3 separate regions of the Homo sapiens genome follow, and all the other regions are linked to region 1. Evidence: promoter capture Hi-C in human tissues and cell types (Jung and others, 2019). All regions are on one chromosome and are shown on one strand. Each heading gives the region's core, a stretch centred on a gene start or on the middle of the fragment in contact. The rest is flanking DNA. Distances are from core to core; before and after follow the strand shown. Region 1 holds the start of LRP2 (LDL receptor related protein 2). Region 2 has its middle 36 kb from the start of LRP2. Region 3 overlaps LRP2 (LDL receptor related protein 2).

What was found. Contacts are between HindIII fragments. The study calls those that stand out against the background at their distance.
Region 2: a contact is called between a fragment that was not itself captured here and the fragment with the promoter of LRP2 in region 1, in 1 of the 25 tissues and cell types used here (adrenal gland).
Region 3: a fragment that was not itself captured here is called in contact with the fragment with the promoter of LRP2 in region 1 in 1 of the 25 tissues and cell types used here (neural progenitor cells).

The regions. Positions count from the first base shown.
Region 1 is chr2:169,360,628-169,365,024 of GRCh38, forward strand. It overlaps LRP2 (LDL receptor related protein 2), which reads right to left and starts at 1,907. Exons shown (of 79, transcript NM_004525.3): 1 at 1,694-1,907. The coding sequence starts at 1,772. RefSeq lists enhancers at 1,758-2,391, 2,392-3,025. The HindIII fragment of the contact is 10,463 bases long and covers 1-4,397 here.
Region 2 is chr2:169,396,432-169,400,700 of GRCh38, forward strand. No RefSeq gene overlaps it. Among named protein-coding and RNA genes, the nearest start is that of LRP2, 36 kb to the left of the region's middle. The HindIII fragment of the contact is 5,640 bases long and covers 1-4,269 here.
Region 3 is chr2:169,322,407-169,326,659 of GRCh38, forward strand. All of the region lies in intron 1 of LRP2 (LDL receptor related protein 2), which reads right to left. Among named protein-coding and RNA genes, the nearest start is that of LRP2, 38 kb to the right of the region's middle. The HindIII fragment of the contact is 4,731 bases long and covers 1-4,253 here.

The DNA.
Region 1 (4,397 bases), core at 657-3,156:
ATTTAGGACATGAGATACAACCCTAAGCATTGTGCAAACTCTGCACAATAATAATAAACCCTCTTTCTGCGTTACCAACACTGAGAAAGGGTGTTCAAAGGAAGGTTATTAATGATCTCTCCTTGCCTCTCCTGCCTTTCTGAAGACTTTTGCAAGACCTGTGGGGTTTGTTAGGGTTTCCAAACTTCTTCCCAGGAAGTCTGAAATGGGTGCTGCTAGGAGTTGCTGTATAATTACTTACTTGATTCCCTCTAAGGAGCTTACGCTAAGAATTGAGGAAAGAAAGCAGATTAACCATTTGAATACATGCCACGGCCCATCCACAAGCCCTCCCCTCACTCCTCCGTAAATGGGGGCTTCCACATTCCCCACCCATCAACCCCAATATGTGATCCAGGAAAATCAATTTATTGCTTTGGCTAATCCTACAACAATAGGGGTTTCATTTTCATTGTAGGGCAATTAAGTTGTCCGACGGGAGGGAAGGAGCAGGAGGGGAAAGGGGGGACTCTCCCATCCCCACAGACAGATTAGTCCCTGCGGTGGCAGCAGCGTCCCCTCTGTCTGTCTGGTGGTCGGTCACACGCAGCTCCCGGCTGCTACCTAGCAACGCAAAGCCAGGGGGAGAGCTCGCCGGTTCCAGCCTCCTCCTCGCCCTTCCCATTCATCCTCGGCCGGGTCTCTGTCTCTCTGTCTCTCTCTGTCTCTCTCTGTCTCTCTCTGTCTCTCTCTCTCTCTCTCTCTCTCTCCCTCTCTCTCTCTCTCTCTGTCTCTCTCCTCTCTCTCCTCTCTCTCTCTCTTCTCCCGCCCCAGTCGTTCTCTTCCCTCCTTCTTTCCTTATTCCTATTTGCTTCTCTTACGCTCTCTCCTCTTCCCTTCTTACTAGTTTTATTCTCTCCGCTTCTTTCTCCCTCTCTTTCCCTCTTCTCTGTTTCTGTTAAAACATAAACTATCGGACAACTTGAGAGAAGTTTAAAGCACTTCATACTAGAAACTTTCTGCATTCGATCCCCAAAACTCTGGCCATGCAGACGGGCCCCATTCATCAACACAAAAGCCCCCAGCTCCCAGCTGGAAAGGAAAACTTCAAGAAAAGACTCCAGTCCCTCAGCCACTCTCTCGGCCAATCCCACCTCCCGGCCTTATCTTGGCTCGTAAATGATCTGTATGGTGAGAGCGGTCTCTGGGGGTCACCGCGGGACCAAGTTTCGCCGGTGGTGGGAGGAGTGCTCTGGCCCGCGGCCCTGGGCGCGCGAAGGGATCCCGGGAGGGGCGCTGCAGGTGGAAAGCTGCGCTCTGAGCAGAGCCCGGGACCGCGCCGCCCAGCAGAGAACTCCGCTAGGGAGGGCAGGCTGCAAACGGCGGAGAACCTCGTTCTCCCGCAAAGTGCTTTCCAGGAGCATCGGACCAACGCCCGTGGGAACAAAGACAGGGTCTCCGTGGGGTGCGCTGTCACCGAAACTGGCGGGGCTGCTTTCTCAAGTTTGCTGCCGCTCAGTTCCTGGCGAGCGAAGAGGGGCGCTCCCGCTCCGGCTTCGCGAAGCAACCTGAGCGCCCCACCGGGAGCAGCTCCCGCGCCGCCGCCCGGCCCTAGCCCCTGCCCGGACGCTCTCCCCTCCGGCCTCCCGCGGACCCGACCCTGCCACAGCCGGGGAAGTGGGGGCTCCACGAGAGGCTCTGGCTGGGCTCTTACCTTGGCCACTGGCCGGCGCTAGGCAGGCGACGAGAGCCAGGAGCAGCGTGCACGCCACTGCTGCCGGCCCGCGATCCATCTCCGCGACGGTCCCCGGCCTCGCCGTTCCTTCCCCGGGAGGTGGGCGCGCGTAGCACACCGCACCGGCAGCGCCTCTGCTAGCGAACGCTCCTTTAGGTCTGCACCTCCGCCAGCTCCTAGTGGCCAAAAGCCTGCCCCCACGCCCGAGGCATCCCGTTTTCTACCCGCGCCAGTCCCCACCCTCCAGACAGTGCATAAAGCCCTTTAGACCCGACCGCCCCGGAACAAGCATGCGGGAATCCAGCGGGCAGGCCCCCTGCCGCCCGGCCCGCCCCCTGCACTTTGCAGCGCGGGGAGGAGTGGGCACTCGAACACACGCGTGCTCACACAGGGACACTCACACAGGCGTGTGCACACTCACACACGCACTCATACAGGCGCATGCACTCCTAAGTGTCACACCAACTGACACAGATTCACTCATACACGCCAGTCACACACGCGCGCACATTCCACAGTCACACTTCAACGCCGACATACACAGTCCCCTTTACGCGTGCATACAAGAGCACACTCCTGTGCGCACACTCTCACAGGCACACTCACACGTGCACACGCGCTGCCCTCGCCTCTCCGCAGGGTTTGCCCCGCACAGAAGCCGGCGAGGCGGCTCACGGGGAAATCTGCACGGACGCAGTTTTACTAAATGAGCAATGGAAAGAAATGGACGAGGAGGAAAGTCAAGAATAGAGAAGAGAAAGAAAAAATAAGAAATGGAAAAGGAAAGCACAACCAGACAAGTAAAAATGAAGGAAAGAGAAAGAAAGGGAAAGAGGCGGGGGTAGGGAAGGGAAGGAGTAAAGAGCCTGCTGGATGGAGATCTGTGACCTTCATTCCTGGCCTGATCTCTCTAGGCTCCTTCGGATATCTTGGTTTCCCCTGATAGGATACAGGCTGCTGAGATGGGGTGCTTTGTGTTTTTACAAATTAGAGAGGGAGGTGGATCTTTGTTGGGGAGGTTGGATCCTTATTTAGCAATTATTCAGCACCACATCTACAGGTGTCATGGCCAGATCGTGCTTCTTACAAGTCTGCTCATTTTGAAGCAAAATTGAAAAAGAGCGAACGTCTTCTCCATGGTTCCGGTACCCTTTTATAAGAAGGAGAAACACGAGAGGTTCAGGGAACCCCTAGCCTCCCTTCTTTGGGGCCGCTTTGGACAGGCTGGCAAGGGGCCCGGAAGCCAAAAGCACAAGTGGCCTTACACCCGCCCTCAGCGCACGTCCTCAGCCTGTACGTGACATCAGAGCCCACAGGGAGGGGTAAAAAAGGAGGGTTGATGCAAGTTATTTCCCGGTGGTGGGAACCCTGTGTGAGAAGGGGCTGTTTGCGGGCCTGAGGCCATCCCATCATCTCCAGCTCCAGCCCCTGAACCAGCGCGGCAGCTAGTCCCAGGCTCCGGATCCTGGTCCAAGAAGTCAGGAGCCCTTTCCCTCCAGCGAAGGGGCCGTGACGCATGGAGGAGACAGCCCTGAACGCACGTGGTCGCTGGACAGGTTCCCGCTGCCTCCCTTCCCCAGGGGCGAGAACCTGCCAATTACTGCCAGCCCCTTTCCCCGGGGCACAGGTCGTCCGGGGCTCTGCTGACCCCAACAGTCCGGATCGCGTAGCTTCCGTGGGCTGCAGTGGTAGGCGCAGCTTTAGGTGTGGGGGCTAGGGGAGGGAAAGGATAGGTGTTACTTTGGAAAGACAAAAAGAGATAAATAGACACAAAAAGAGAAAACTTAGGCTTAAAGAAAAAAAGGTGGAGCGGGCAGCGTTGTGGGAAAGAGTGGGAGAGATTCCTGGATTGGGAAATCCAGAGGTCTGTGCTCTGGCCAAAGTCACTGGTTCTCTATTTGCCTCCCTGCATAGTGTTGGGCGCTGTGCGGCGCGGAGGAGACAGGACTGGGGACAGGAGAGCCGGGGTCTGGGGAGGGAGGGGGCGACCGGACCGGAGCGGGAGGAGGGAGGCGGCGAGGGGGCTTGATGCTGCACTCCAGTCTTCGCGGGTGATTTATGCCGGTTCCGGGCGGCCGAGGCGATGGTACGAGACCGCGCCGGGGTCAAGCCGGTCCGACGCCCGCTGGGGCCGCGCTGCATAGTCAATGAGCGTCCCCGCACCTCCGACTTACAAAGAGCGGCCGCCGGCTGGCGGGAGGGAGGAGCGCGAGTGCGGGAGGGGCTGGGCTCCCTCCAGTGCGCCCGTGGGCGCGCAGGCGCGAGCGTGTGTGTGTGTGTGTGTGTGTGTGTGTGTGTGTGTGTGTGTGTGTGTGTGTGTGTGTGCCCTTTCACTGTAGCAGCCAGGGCTCCAAACATTCCTTTCTGTACTGAAGAGTTCCTCAATTGTTGTTGTCTTTGTGCTCCAGTGTTGCCAACTTACTGGAATTCCTGACGTGGTTGCACAGCAGGGCTCAGGCTGACCGTACTAGCCAGCTGCGTTTGTGTATGGGGCCGACCCCGCCGTTAATCCCAGAATAACGCAGAAGAGGGGAAAGGAGGGAGGGAGAACGGGAGGTAGGAGAGCAGAAAAGGGGTAGGGATGGGGGACCACCTAGCGGAGCACAGCCCATCATTCGCAGCACTCTGTATGTGGACCCACACACTTTTCCACTAGAATAACCCATTTTCTCAATGCAATCCC
Region 2 (4,269 bases), core at 1,510-4,009, 37 kb after region 1:
TGAAATCAAATCTGCATTGTTTTAACCAAACAAGGGATTTTTAAAATTTTACTTACAAATATCCAGCTTTATCTAATTTTATGATATGTTTTCTTCGGGGCCCTTACAATGCTGTGGTGTGTCTTGGGGGCCATGATATGGCTGTGGCATGGCTAAATGGACCACCAGCTTCCAAGGAGATTTGTCAGCAAGTGTAAGATAAACAGAAGTCAGAGATATGTTCAAGAGTGTTGGAGGGGTTTGGAAGGAGGAGGAGGAGAAGGGGAATCAAAGACTTGCAGACCATGAGAGGTGAGGATGTCCAGCTCCTCTGCGTTCCATTTCCTCTAATCTGGATTGGCATGTCTGACCAAATTCTTGCCTTTGGTGCCACTTGTAAAATCCTAAAAGATGAGAACATCAGAGCACTATTTAATGTCTTTTTTTAAAGTATGGTCTCAATTCAGAATAAGGCAGATCTACATTAACTGATTCAAAGCAATGTCCAAGATACTTTATTAAATGTAAAAAAAAAAAAGTTTCAGAATGGCATGTTGACTATGCCATTTGTGTATTTAAAAACAGAGGAGCTATGTAGACATAAATGCTTATGTATGTATAGAGTATATCTAGATTCTGGAAGGATGCACTAGAGGGAGGTAATGGTAAGGGAACTGTGAGGCTGAGAAATCCCCCTATATTATATAACCTTCTGAAGTTTCACCTTTTTCCTAGTTTAAAATGGTAATCATATAATAAAACATACCATTTCACTAAAAGAGCTAGATTTTCCAGACAAATATTTGACATATGGAACTTTGAAATTTTACATAGTCAGAACTGTACAGAAATCAAGTCACAAAATAATGTCTTACACAGCTGGCCAAGCTTATCCCAGAATGATTTTTTTTTTTTTTTTTTTTGAGATAAGGTCTCACTCTTGTCACCCAGGCTGGAGTGCAGTGGTGCGATCACGGTTCACTGCAGCCTCAATCTCCTGGACTCAAGCGATCCTCCCACCTCAACCTCCTGAGTAGCTGGGATCAACAGGCCCGCGTGCCACCATGCCCGGCTAATTTTTTTTTTTTTTCTAGAGAGAGGGTCTCACTATGTTGCCCGGGCTGGTCTTGAACTCCTGGGCTCAAGTGATCCTCCTCCCTCAGTCTCCCAAAGTGCTGGGATTATAGGCATGAACCACCACACCCAGCCCAGAATAATTTTAGAACTGCAAATGTAGTGCATTTTTGTTAAAGATGTTTCTTTGGCTGCTATTTTTAGTCTTTTTTTCCTCCTCAGATTCTCTGAAGATTATAATCTTCATGGTAGTGGACTAGAAATCACAAAGATTTTAAGAGAGAAAATGTGTCCTATTAGCTATAAATAAAATCACTCTCCTAACTCTCTCCGGAGAGAATGAGAAAGAAAAGCTGGAGTCATAAAAGAGTGTTCTTTCCCTGTGACTGTGGATCAAGATTGACACCCAGTGGCCAGATACAATCCTTTTTTTCACTGACATTCTTGCTATATAATTTGACATTTCTAAAATTTCCCTTTATGTTTTAGAGGAAAAAATGATTTAAATCTGTGATGTTTACTGAAAGCGAACTGTATCTTAGACAGCCAGGTTAAATTAGTAGGTCTTGTTTCATACATAATTAACAGGTTTATTTCTGTATCCTCTCTGCTTGCATTTTTTCCTAACATTAAGAAGCAATTTTCATTCGGTTGACAAAACAATGTACACTAAGTCCTGTGGAAATGCAACTTTAAGCAAAATGAGGTACAACAGGTCTTTGAATAATGTCTTTTTTTTTTTTTTTTTTTTTTGAGATGGGAGTCTCACTAAGTTGCCCAGGCTGATCTTGAACTCCTGGCCTCAAGCAAGCCTCTTGACTCAGCCTCCTGAGAAACTAAGATTATTGGCATGAACCACCATGGCTGGCTTAGTTATAATGTCAATGAGAAAAATAAAATCGGTTTTGTTATATCTTATTTTGCTTAAAGTTGCCATTTCCAAGAACCTATTGATGACATTGAGGACTTAATGTATTCATTTTTTTTTTTCTTTTGAGACAAAGTCTCACTGTCGCCCAGGCTGGAGTACAGTGGCATGATCTCAGCTCACTGCAACCTGTGCCTCCCAGGTTCAAGCGATTCTCCTGCCTCAGCCTTCCAAGTAGCTGGGATTACAGGCATGCACCACCATGCCCAGCTAATTTTTGTATTTTTAGTAGAGACGGGGTTCCACCATGTTGGCCAGTCTGGTCTCGAACTCTTGACCTCAGGTGATCCGCCCGCCTCGGCCTCCCAAAGTACTGGGATTACAGGTGTGAGCTACTGCACCCAGCCATGATGAAGTCAATATTTTAGCAAATAAAACTAACATGTTTAACACAGATTACCAAAGAGAAAAGTCGTGAATTTAAGAATTAGACACATCAAAGTCCAAATTCTAGCTGGGCAATCTTGAGCAAGTCTCTGAATTTTACTAAATTTCAATTTCCTCCCTATCGTGAGGATTAAATGAGATGCAAATTTAAAATGCTTATCTTGGTACTTGCATGTATGTTATGAAATACACACACACACACACACACACACACACACACACACACAGATATACGTACACGTGGTAGCTATTTTCTGGTAGTTACTACCAGAAAAAGCAAGTTTGTGAAAGTCAAACCCACATGAAGAATATATCTCTTCTTGAATCAACCTTATAGTACCTAGTTTGATGGAGAAGAACAGTGACCCCAGATAATCTAAACTTATAAATAATTCAAAAGATCAAGAAGATGGCCAAACAGGAACAGCTCCCAGTGTGAGCAACGCAGAAGACGTACGATTTCTGCATTTCCAACTGAGGTACTGGGTTCATCTCACTGGGGATTGTCGGACAGTGGGTACAGGACAGTGGGTGCAGTGCACTGAGCATAAGCCGAAGCAGGGCGAGGCATCGCCTCACCCAGGAAGCACAAGGGGTCAGGGAATTCCCTTTCCTAGCCAAGGAAAGGGGTGACAGACGGCACCTGGAAAATCGGGTCCCTCCCACCCTAATACTGCGCTTTTCTGATGGTCTTAGTAAACGGCACACCGGGAGTTTATATCCCACGCCTGGCTCAGAGGGTCCTACACCCATGGAGCCTCGCTCATTGCTAGCACAGCAGTCTGAGATCAAACTGCAAGTCAGCAGCGAGGCTGCGGGAGGGGCGCTCAGAATTGCCAAGGCTTGAGTAGGTAAACAAAGCGGCTGGGAAGCTCGAACTGGGTGGAGCCCACCACAGCTCAAGGAGGCCTGTCTACCTCTATAGACTCCACCTCTGGGGGCTGGGCATAGCCAAACAAAAGGCAGCGGAAACCTCTGCAGACTTAAATGTCCCTGTCTGACAGCTTTGAAAAGAGTAGTGGTTCTCCCAGCACGCAGCTTGAGATCTGAGAACGGACAGACTGCCTCCTCAAGTAGGTCCCCGACCCCCAAGTAGCCTAACTGGGAGGCACCCCCAAGTAGGGGCAGACTGACACCTCACACGGCCGGGTACTCCTCTGAGACAAAACTTCCAGAGGAATGATCAGGCAGCAACATTTGCTGTTCACCAATATCTGCTGTTCTGCAGCCTCCGCTGCTGATACCCAGGCAAACAGGGTCTGGAGTGGACCTCCAGCAAACTCCAAAAGACCTGCAGCCGAGGGTTCTGTCTGTTAGAAGGAAAACTAACAAACAGAAATGACATCCACACCAAAAACCCATCAGTACGTCACCATCATCAAAGACCAAAGGTAGATAAAACCACAAAGATGGGGAAAAAACAGAGCAGAAAAGCTGAAAATTCTAAAAATCAGAGTGTCTCTCCTCCTCCAAAGGAACGCAGCTCCTCACCAGCAACGGAACAAACCTGGACAGAGAATGACTTTGACAAGTTGAGAGAAGGAGGCTTCAGATGATCAAACTATTCCAAGCTAAAGGAGGAAGTTCGAACCAATGGCAAACAAGTTAAAAACCTTGAAAAAAATTAGACAAATGGCTAACTAGAATAACCAATGCAGAGAAGTCCTTAAAGGACCTGATGGAGCTGAAAACCATGGCACGAGAACTACGTGACAAATGCACAAGCCTCAGTAGCTGATTCGATCAACTGGAAGAAAGGGTATCAGTGATGGAAGATGAAATGAAAGAAATGAAGCAAGAAGAGAAGTTTAGAGAAAAAGCAATAAAAAGAAACGAACAAAGCCTCCAAGAAATATGGGACTATGTGAAAAGACCAAATCTACATCTGATTGGTGTACCTG
Region 3 (4,253 bases), core at 639-3,138, 38 kb before region 1:
CAGGAGTACGTACACCCAAATACCTTCTATAGACTAATGCATGATGGTGGTTGGTGGTGCAGGTCTGGGGTTGGTGGTGCAGGTCTCTTATCAACTACCTTTAAAACACAACAACCTCCCTTGCAAAAATGCCCCTAAGGAATGTACAAATTCACTCTGGAATCCCAGAACTTCTCATTGGATTTTGTTCTACAAAGCAATATTTCCATGGGAGATTAGGGGCTTTGGAGGTTTAGCTATTAACACAACATATATTAAATCACTTTTATCAATTAGGTCTATTGTTAGTAATCCAACATAATACATTTGTAAGTTCAGTACATTTGTCTCCCTTAGTATCTGAGGTTGTAAAGGTAGTATCTTCTGGTTGAAAAATTATAACAATCATAAAGAACAGTCCTCTTACAGACAGTTTCATATTGCTATGGAGAAAAGAAAAATATAAATTTAGAGACTGAGTATTTAGGAGGAAATTATCAGAACAATATATATTGCCTGTTTTGAAAATATATATAATTAATGCTATTTCTTAAGCAACTTTTATTACAAGTCCCATTTTTGAGGAGTGGGGTGGGGGGATTTGTTTGTTTTTGCCAAACTAAAATACCAAGTTAAACACATCATGAAAAGAACACAAAATAGAGACTCAAAAGTCATTTTATAAAACACTTCAAAGTCAATTATTTAAAATCACACATATGAAAAATGAAACTGATGGGGAAATGTTGCAATTAACTAATTTTTATAGGTAGTGATTTTCACACTTGATCTCCTCACTCCATTATCTAATATATCAAATCCAATTTACTCAATTTATCAACAGATCTATAATTCATTTGTCAAATTCACCTTTTCAGTAGTAACTTCGATGCCTGTTTATAACTCCCAAACGACTATTGTTTGGAAATATCTCTCCAGAAAAAACAAACTGATACTTTATCATTGCTGGGTGACCTCTCAGCCATCAGCCAAAATGCTTCACTGGCCTCAGAAGCTCATTCTCTCATAAAGGGAATATGTGTTGTTTAAAAATAAACCAAAAATAAACCACTAGTGAAAAGGTCTAGATTAGGTCTAATAACAATTGCAGGTGCCCCTTACTTCAATTAGTCTATATGCAATTTATTTTGAGTGTTTTGTTTTAAATAAGTAGCCTTTACTCACAAGCCCTCCAAAAGTTTTATCTAGATATTATCTACATTTTGTTATTTATTTGAAGATTTAAAAAAAAAAAAAGCTAAGGGGATGATTTCATACATTGGAGCCACCCACAGGGAGAAAAAAAAAATCTACATAGAACCAGCTTTAAAACTTTGTTCAGAAAATAGTCTCAAAACTGCCACATTCAACCAATCCAGTTTTAGCCAAGAAGTAATCTTGCAAATAATCATTTATGTAACTTTAAAACATTCTCCAGGAGCCTCTCTGGTTTGGGGGCTGCCTGATTAAAAAAAAAAAAAAATCCCTCTAGTAAAAACCAAGGAGGAAAGGAGGAAAATACAATCCACATTGAAATAAAAACCTTTTGTTAAGAACCAGGCAATCATCACAAAGGAACCATCGGAACCAAATGAACACCCTATCTCTCCAGCACTAGCCCCTGTCTGTCCCATCAATCAGAATAGATGGTGCAAAGATGAAAAGAAGTACTCATATAGCACTTAAATGGCACACACCATTCTAAGTGCTCTGCCAACATTAGCTCATTTAATCCTCATAATAACCCTATGAAATAGATACTGTTATTATGAATATTTTACAAATAAATAAATTGAAGCACAGAGCAATTCGGTAACTTGCCCAAGATCCAACAGCAAATATGTGCAAAGCAAGGATTTGAATCTGACAGCTCTGATTCCAGCATTCGTGCTACTTGACCACTACTCTATGTTCCCTTTCACCAAAAAAAAAAGTTTATTCCACTAAACTCAAGAATGAATGTAAAAATCTGATTTTTTTCCCCCAAAGCTGCTCTCAATTAACATTAATTGAGTTCATTATTGGGCTGGCATAGAATCCATAGTGCTTATATACTTCAGTTGGAGAAAAAGAGTAGTTTACTTGGTGACTAACATAGCATTAAAAAATTATTGGGCTTAGGAAAAATTGCAGCAATTGAAAGCAATGCAAAAAAAATTTAAGCGTTTTGAAATCGGTAGTAAAATTTTATTAGACATAGGAATAAACTTGTTTTCCAACCTCATAAAGAGCCCAAAGCTAGGGGAAAAAAAAAAAAAAAGAGTAATCCTTTCTTCATAAGTAGCCATATCCCAAGCTTCCTGGGTAAGTGTTGGACTAAGAATGTGTTAAGATAAGATATTAGAGTAACAGATAGCGCCCAGAGAAGAGGAGTCATTTGCCTGTTTGTTTTCCACAGCAAGGAACAACACTGGATTGAGAGCATTCCTCTGTGTCATTTACAGCCTCTGGCACAGCACCGGGTGCTTATGGAATAGCTAATGCATGTTCGTCAGGAAGTGTAGAATTCTCTTTGTAAAACTCAGCCTGCTGAGACCATTATATATCAGAGATATAGAAAGCTATCAGAGCAAACAATGAGACTTTAAATAGAAATTTACCATCTTAAATCCATAGAAAGAAAAATGGAATCTGGAATAATCTGAAAAAAGGGGAATATCTAGAAGTTTTTTTCAAAAAAAAAAAAAAAGAAAGAAAAAAACATTGAGTCATATTAATAGCAGTTTCATTCTTTTACCCGTTCCTTGTAAGTTTCTTTCTCCTTCCATAAATTCTATTCTTATAAGACAAAGACAAGTGGTAGTCAATGGAACATTGTCCAAAGTTAACAGAGTAAGGTAATTTCTGTGGCAAATCCTATTTCCCCGCTAGATCCTCTTAACACATGCTGGTCCTTCCAAACACTTGGTCTACCTGAGGAGGTACAGTCCTCTTTTTAAAAATTTGTATGAGTAAATCACATTTTAATAGTTCCACCTTCACTGAACTCAAAGAAACAAACAAATTTAAGAGGCAATTCCTTAACTTATCCATAATTTTTGCTTCACTTTTTCTATACTTAATTTTGATTCCTTTGGTATGGATAGACATCCTTCTGATATTCATAAGTTGGCTGACAGTTCACTACAATTCCCATACCTTGCCCACATAAACAAGGCCAGTCCCCTTTTGAAGATTTAGAGTCACCTGCTTATTTCCAAAACTTTACACTATAGTGATGATAGCCAAGGGTAACAAATTGTATGGAGCACTCTACCCTGTCTAGTGTCAAATTGATAGAATAGTCAAGGATTCAGTTAATGAAACTGAAACAAGACAGGAACAGCAAACCAACCTGCTAGTCTCTTTCTGTGCAACATTTTAACTGTCTGGTTTTCCTTACAGATCATCAAATAGGTGGCAGGAATTCTTTTGGGTTTTTTTTTTAATCCAGTTTACAAACCACTGAATAGACTGCTTTGTCCCAATTATTGATTCAGAGCCCTGATGTTTTCTTAGAGCAAAACAATACTATAAGGACATTTCAAGAAGTCAAAGATTTGGGGACAAAACCCACAATGCAAATTGATGCATTATCATGTAGACACATCATTTAAGTGCAAAAATAAATGAATAAATAAATAAGGACCAAAAGAATATGATGCCAGATTCACTAAAGCCACAAATAAATTCATAACTACTATATGCAATTGTCCTAGGATCAGTGGAAGAAAAAAGAAAAATAAGATATGGTCCTTTTTTGCTCTGCCTCTCCCTCTCCCTCTCCCTCTCCCTCTCCCTCTCCCTCCCCCTCTCCCCTCTCCCCTCTCCCCTCTCCCCTCTCCCCTCTCCCTCTCGGTCTCCCTCTCCCTCTCTTTCCACGGTCTCCCTCTGATGCCGAGCCGAAGCTGGACTGTACTGCTGCCATCTCGGCTCACTGCAACCTCCCTGCCTGATTCTCCTGCCTCAGCCTGCCGAGTGCCTGCGATTGCAGGCGCGCGCCACCACGCCTGACTGGTTTTCGTACTTTTTTGGTGGAGACGGGGTTTCACTGTGTTGGCCGGGCTGGTCTCCAGCTCCTAACCGCGAGTGATCCGCCAGCCTTGGCCTCCCGAGGTGCCGGGATTGCAGACGGAGTCTGGTTCACTCAGTGCTCAATGGTGCCCAGGCTGGAGTACAGTGGCGTGATCTCAGCTCGCTACAACCTCCATCTCCCAGCCGCCTGCCTTGGCCTCCCAAAGTGCCGAGATTGCAGCCTCTGCCCGGCCACCACCCCGTCTGGGAAGTGAGGAGCG